Linked DNA regions of Homo sapiens: region 1 is linked to region 2. Evidence: promoter capture Hi-C in human tissues and cell types (Jung and others, 2019). All regions are on one chromosome and are shown on one strand. Each heading gives the region's core, a stretch centred on a gene start or on the middle of the fragment in contact. The rest is flanking DNA. Distances are from core to core; before and after follow the strand shown. Region 1 overlaps UNC13C (unc-13 homolog C). Region 2 holds the start of RSL24D1 (ribosomal L24 domain containing 1).

The links. The method cuts DNA at HindIII sites, captures the fragments that hold promoters and counts their contacts. A contact is called where the count stands out against the background at its distance.
Region 1: a contact is called between a fragment that was not itself captured here and the fragment with the promoter of RSL24D1 in region 2, in 1 of the 25 tissues and cell types used here (dorsolateral prefrontal cortex).

Annotation. Positions count from the first base shown.
Region 1 is chr15:54,006,104-54,009,037 of GRCh38, reverse strand. All of the region lies in intron 1 of UNC13C (unc-13 homolog C), which reads right to left. Among named protein-coding and RNA genes, the nearest start is that of UNC13C, 29 kb to the right of the region's middle. The HindIII fragment of the contact is 6,381 bases long and covers 1-2,934 here.
Region 2 is chr15:55,195,533-55,198,280 of GRCh38, reverse strand. RSL24D1 (ribosomal L24 domain containing 1) reads left to right here and starts at 1,340. Exons shown (of 6, transcript NM_016304.3): 1 at 1,340-1,471. The coding sequence starts at 1,391. RefSeq lists enhancers at 1,376-1,535, 1,329-2,220. The HindIII fragment of the contact is 8,846 bases long and covers 1-2,577 here.

The sequences.
Region 1 (2,934 bases), core at 379-2,878, 1.2 Mb after region 2:
TTCAGACAAGTGACTGAGATAGGAAAGGAAGATGACATTTAATGATCACCTGTTATGTTTCAGAAACTTAAATTATCTCCGTAATCCTCCCAGAAACTCTTTAAAAAAGGCATTATTATGCCTATTATATGAGGAGATAAGAGATTCAAAGAGATAAAGAGATACAACCAAAAACTGCACAGCTAAACAAAGCAAAAAGGTAGTTTGGTCCTAGTCCTGGAGTCTATGAAACAATCATTTGTACGTAAAGTGAATGTTACCAGTGGTAACTGACACAAACCCTTACACCCAGCCCATACAAACCCACATACCTACTCCTCTCTCTGAAGTTCATTTTTTTAAAGTAAAATAGCTCAAATCAGGAAAAACTCAAGGTAGATGAGAGGTAGCTGGAGGGTGAACGCAAAGATAACATCATCTCAACTACTTGAATTCCAAAGCTCCAACTTACTCTCTAGATATTTTAACTTTAGTTAAATAACTACACATTGTCTTCATTAATGAACTTTAGGGATAAGATTTAAGACTTTGGAAAGAAAGTCTTTGAAAGAGATTAAAACAATAGACTATGCGGTTATAGGAAGCCTTAGTAATAACATTCAATTATTATTTACTATGTACCAAGCACTGTGTATGCAATTTTCTAAAGTTTATCTCATTTCATTCTCACAATAATTGTAAAAAATAAGTATTTTTAATTTCCAGATAAAGTGACTCAAGCTTTAGTTTCTGAAAACTTGCTTAAGGTCATGCGATTAACATGAAACACAGCCTTGACTCCGAACCCCAGATTTGAACAGAAAGTGTGTAAACTCGGAAACTAATATTAGTGTTTAATGGGAAATATGTTTTGCAGATATGTTAACATATTCATTTTTAAGAGAACTATTTAATACCCTAGTGAGCTAAAGGAGATAATGAACTTTTAAACAGTCAAAAATTTATTGCTAAATCATTACCAGAATTAAGTTAAAGCATTTTCAGATCAACAAACAATTTTATGTTCCTTACTAAATGCAGTAAAGTATTTTATGTTCCTTATTAAAGGCAGTAAAGTACTAAATACCCAGGTGAGCTGGATATTTAGAGGTTAACTTTCAAGACAGACAAAGAAGACAAAGGGACAGGACCTCTTATGGTACAGCCCAAGGAGTTCACCTCCCCAAGTCCTGGCCTCAGGACTCACGCTTGTCTCACTGGCCCTTATTCTGATCTGTATTCCTGTCTTTGGTATAGAAATATGCTTATTACCTGGCTTTTCTTGTTATTTTTGGTTCTGGGTTACATGGGCTGGATGTGCAGGTTTGTTACATAGATAAATGTGTGCCATGCTGGTTTGCTACACCTGTCAACCCATTACATAGGTATTAAGCCTAGCACACATTTCGCTACTTTTCCTAATGCTCTACCTCCCCACAACCCACCCTGCAACAGGTTCCAGTGTGTGCTGTTCCCCTCCCTGAGTCCACGTGTCCTCATTGTATAGCTCCCACTTATGAGTGAGAAGATGCAGTGTTTGGTTTTCTGTTCCTGCATCAGTTTGCTAAGGATAATGGCTTCCACCTTCATCCATGTCCCTGCAAAGAACATGACATCATTCCTTTTTATGGCTTCATAGTATTCCATAGTGTATATGTACCACATTTTCTTTATCCAATCTATTTTTGATGGGCATTTGGGTTGATTCCATGTCTTTGCTATTGAATCACTTGACTTTTTGACTTTCTCTTTACTGTTATTTGCTTAATCCTAGACTAATAGAATAACCTTAGTCTTAACTGCTCCTTCATTTGCATTAAGTTGTGTTACGTGTCCTGGACTGTGTTAGGATTAGAATTATTTTCCTACAAGAACATAGAAAGAAAGCCTCTGCTTTTCAATACAACAGCACCTCATCAGTAAATGCCCTATAATTGCTGATTTAAAAGAAATTCTTTCAAAATACATAAAAGGGTGATACATAAATATGGTTCACCACATATCTGTTCAACAGTAAATTCTTGGTGATTTGAAAAGTAGCTGACTCAAAGAAGCTTCCCATCAGGTAGGAGGGCAGAATCACTGCAACAGAGAAGGAAGCAACCCTCACAAAGTGCAGAAAAGGTGCAACTGAGCAAGAGGGCCCCTGTGCAAAACAGCATTGAGCAGCACACCGACCAAGTAACTTTATAAGCAGGCTCCTCCAAACACAGCAAAGAAGAAAACCAGAGTAGCTGGAGATGGAAGGGCAAGCCAGATACACCAATAGCGTGTGAGGAGCCACAAGGATTGATAAAGGGGAGCATGTCGAGGTGGAACAAGTTGGGACAAGGCAGATGATGAGCAAATAGGTTGATATTAAAGATTAAATTTTAAAAAGCATCCTCTAGAATGTCTTTATCAGGTCAATGAAGATTTATACCTGTTTTATATATCCTTTCCACATGAAGGAGTAAAAGGATGTGTATATAATGTGACTGATGATCACAGGGATGACTCTGACAGTGAGAATTGCTGGAACACAGTAACACATTAAATAATGTTTGGGGGAACTGTTAGTTTTTTGCCTTACTTTAAGGCAAAAGCAATAAACCAGTAAATATTAAAATATTTCAACAAAAATGATCAAATCAGAAAGTGATTAAAAGGTTTATCCTAAGCTAATATACTATTTTTTAAAAACAAACAGAAAGATCCCTTTCTCCCAAGAATGAAAGTCAAATGACTCAAGCATACTCTTTAATTCTAGCTAATCAGTTATTTTGTGAATTTCTTCACCCAACTACAACCCACATACATACTTTATTCATTCCCATTGCTGCTACTTTTGTTTAAGAGTAAACAATGGCACTGAGTACTAATATTTCCATAGCACTTAGGATCTACAAAGTCCTTTTGTGTGGTTTATCTCAAATAATCTTCATGGTAATCTTGTAAGGATAGTATCTCAGTTTA
Region 2 (2,748 bases), core at 91-2,590:
AAAGTGCTGTTGAAAATCAACGAAAGAATAGAAAACTGCGTAGGACCTGAACAGGCAATTCACAGAAAAAAGCTGAAAAACATTGTGAAAGATTCTTAACATCATTTGTAATTAAATTCAAGTTGAAATAATAATAAGATAAATTTTCATCTCAGGTTGGCAAAGATCACTTTTCACAGCGGGGTAGTGAAACAGACATCTTATTTGTTGATGCTGAGTGTTAATTGGTAAAAACTTTTGGAAGGCAATTTAGTATTATCTGCCAAATTTTAAAACTATTTATCTATATCCAGCTCCTCTGATCCAGCAGTTCTACATAAACCCTCTCCTGAAAAAGCGTACCAACAGATACTTATTATATCAAAAGATAAGAATGCCCATCGATTAGTGACCAATTAAAATACTTTCATACAATGGCATATATATATGAAAAAGAATGTTAAATACCCTTTTACAGTAAAATATGTATCAAATGCCTATTATGTGCCAGGGACTGTTCTAGATACTGGGATGTAGTTGTAAACCAAACGAACTGAAATCCCTGCCCCTCATGGAGCTCACATTCCAATGAAGGGATACAAGGTAACAGCAAGATGCAGAAAAGAGTAAATAGCATATTAACTAGTATTATAAAGAAGAGGACGTAGAGACAGGCAAACACACAAATATACATGTTTGCCTATGCACAGAAAAGCTCTGGCAGGTAATAAATGGAACTGTTTTGCCCCTGGGGAGGAAGACCGCAGGTCTAGGGAGGGAGTCGTAGTTTCCGGCGAAAATATTTGTTTACTACATATGCATATTAATTAAAATGGGGGGGAGGCGGATAACACGATTTTATATTTAAAAAAATTGCTGGTAAAGTCCTTGGAGCATCAGCAACTCAACCGTTTTCATTGCAATGTTCGAAGCAACGCTGGATTGCAGGGTCTTCGCCGCTTACACCCTGCAAATCACTGTGGGACGAGAATCGAGGGCTGGTCTAGGGCAGGCAGTAGACAAATGAGTTAAGAGAGTGCTCTCGAGAGCACTCCGAGGCAAAGCACAAACCAAAGATACATAATACTTGCATAAATGCCGACACACAGAGAGAAAAAACTAGGCGCTGTGAGAGCAAGTTCACAAGGTGGCGCAGAACCACATTTCCCCAAAGTAACAGCGAACAGGTCTAGTCTGCAGCTCTGCGCCTGCGTCAAACGGCAGCGCATTTGACCACACGGCCGCCGGAGGCACAGTCGTGTTCGCATCTGGTCTAACAGACCCGCGAGAACGAAGGACGCTTGCCTTTTTCCGGTCGGGGAAGGGGGAAGAAGGTAACTTCCGGTGACGGGGTTGCATCACTTCCTCTCAAGCTTGGCGTTTGTTTGGTGGGGTTACACGCGGGTTCAACATGCGTATCGAAAAGTGTTATTTCTGTTCGGGGCCCATCTATCCTGGACACGGCATGATGTTCGTCCGCAACGATTGCAAGGTAAGGCGGTCGACACCAGTTCTTGCTTCAGCCTAGCTCCCGCGGTTCCTGGGCGCGGCGGCTCGGTGCTGGGTGCTTCTGCGTCTGCCGTGTTTGGCCCGGGTTCCTCCCGTTGTTCCCCTGGGAGGGTGGCTTAACTGGGCCTCCGTTCTCAACGTTCCGCTTCGGGGGTTTCTCCTTGCCCGTCTTCCGAGCGGCGCTGGCCACCACGCCACCCTTGGGTGGCGTTGGCAGCGAGGAACTTCAGGAGCGATCCCAGCTAGCGCCTACCAGGAATCTTGGATGTCTGTGAGGGCTGTTTGGCCACTCATGTACTTGGGCCAAATTCTTGAATCCAGTAAACTTTGTTGAGTGTATACCCTGTCAGGCATTACACTAAGGTCCATACTAAAGTGTAGAGGTTGATGGAAGTGTTCCGTATTGCTTAATGGTAGAGTTATGTATTAAGTTACTGCAGGTGAGTTGGGGAGGGTCCTGTACGGAAAGACTCAGCATAGAGGTGATATTTATCTTGGATCCTGAATTTTGCGGAAGAAAGCGGAGGGGGCCTTCTAAGTGGAAGGAAAGTGAACATTTTGAGAAAAGGCAGAGAACGGAGCAAATACATTTGTTTGAGGAAGTGACTGGATTGTAAATGATGATAGAGCCTTGGGCGTAGGGCTACAAGTATAATAAGTCTGTAAACGTAAATAATAAATATGAGTCCTAGTTGTGAAAGACGTTTTGAATGGTACATGAATTTGTCCTGTCATTACAGAATGAATCCCGTTCCTCTCTTTCTCAGAGAAACACATTGTTTCTCAGAATTTGATCTCTTACGTTTGCTTCTGAATTACTGGGCGTTTACAGATTCCTGGTTTTCACCAGATCTATTGAGTTGGAATCTTTGGGGGAGGGGAAGAGGGTCTAAGAATCTGTATATTAAGGTGAATTTGACGTGCTAAATAATTACAAGTCTGACTTCTTCACCTTATATCTCTGTAACAGATCAAAGATATTGACCTCATTAATTAGATCCAAGGGATTCAGCTGAAAGTGACGGACCAAAGCCATGTTTGATAACGTAAAAGAACCTAGAAGATTTTGAATACTTGCTCTCAGGAACATGATAAGAAGTTTATAAAAATGAACCAAAAGATTGCCAGGTTGGGGTCTAATTCAGAGTAGGCAGTATGGTTTTATACATGATGTCGTTACGATTTTGTGATTTTCGTCCAGGATGCTTGTCGGCTGGATATTGGAATTAGAACAACAGATCGTGAGAACTGTCAAGACCT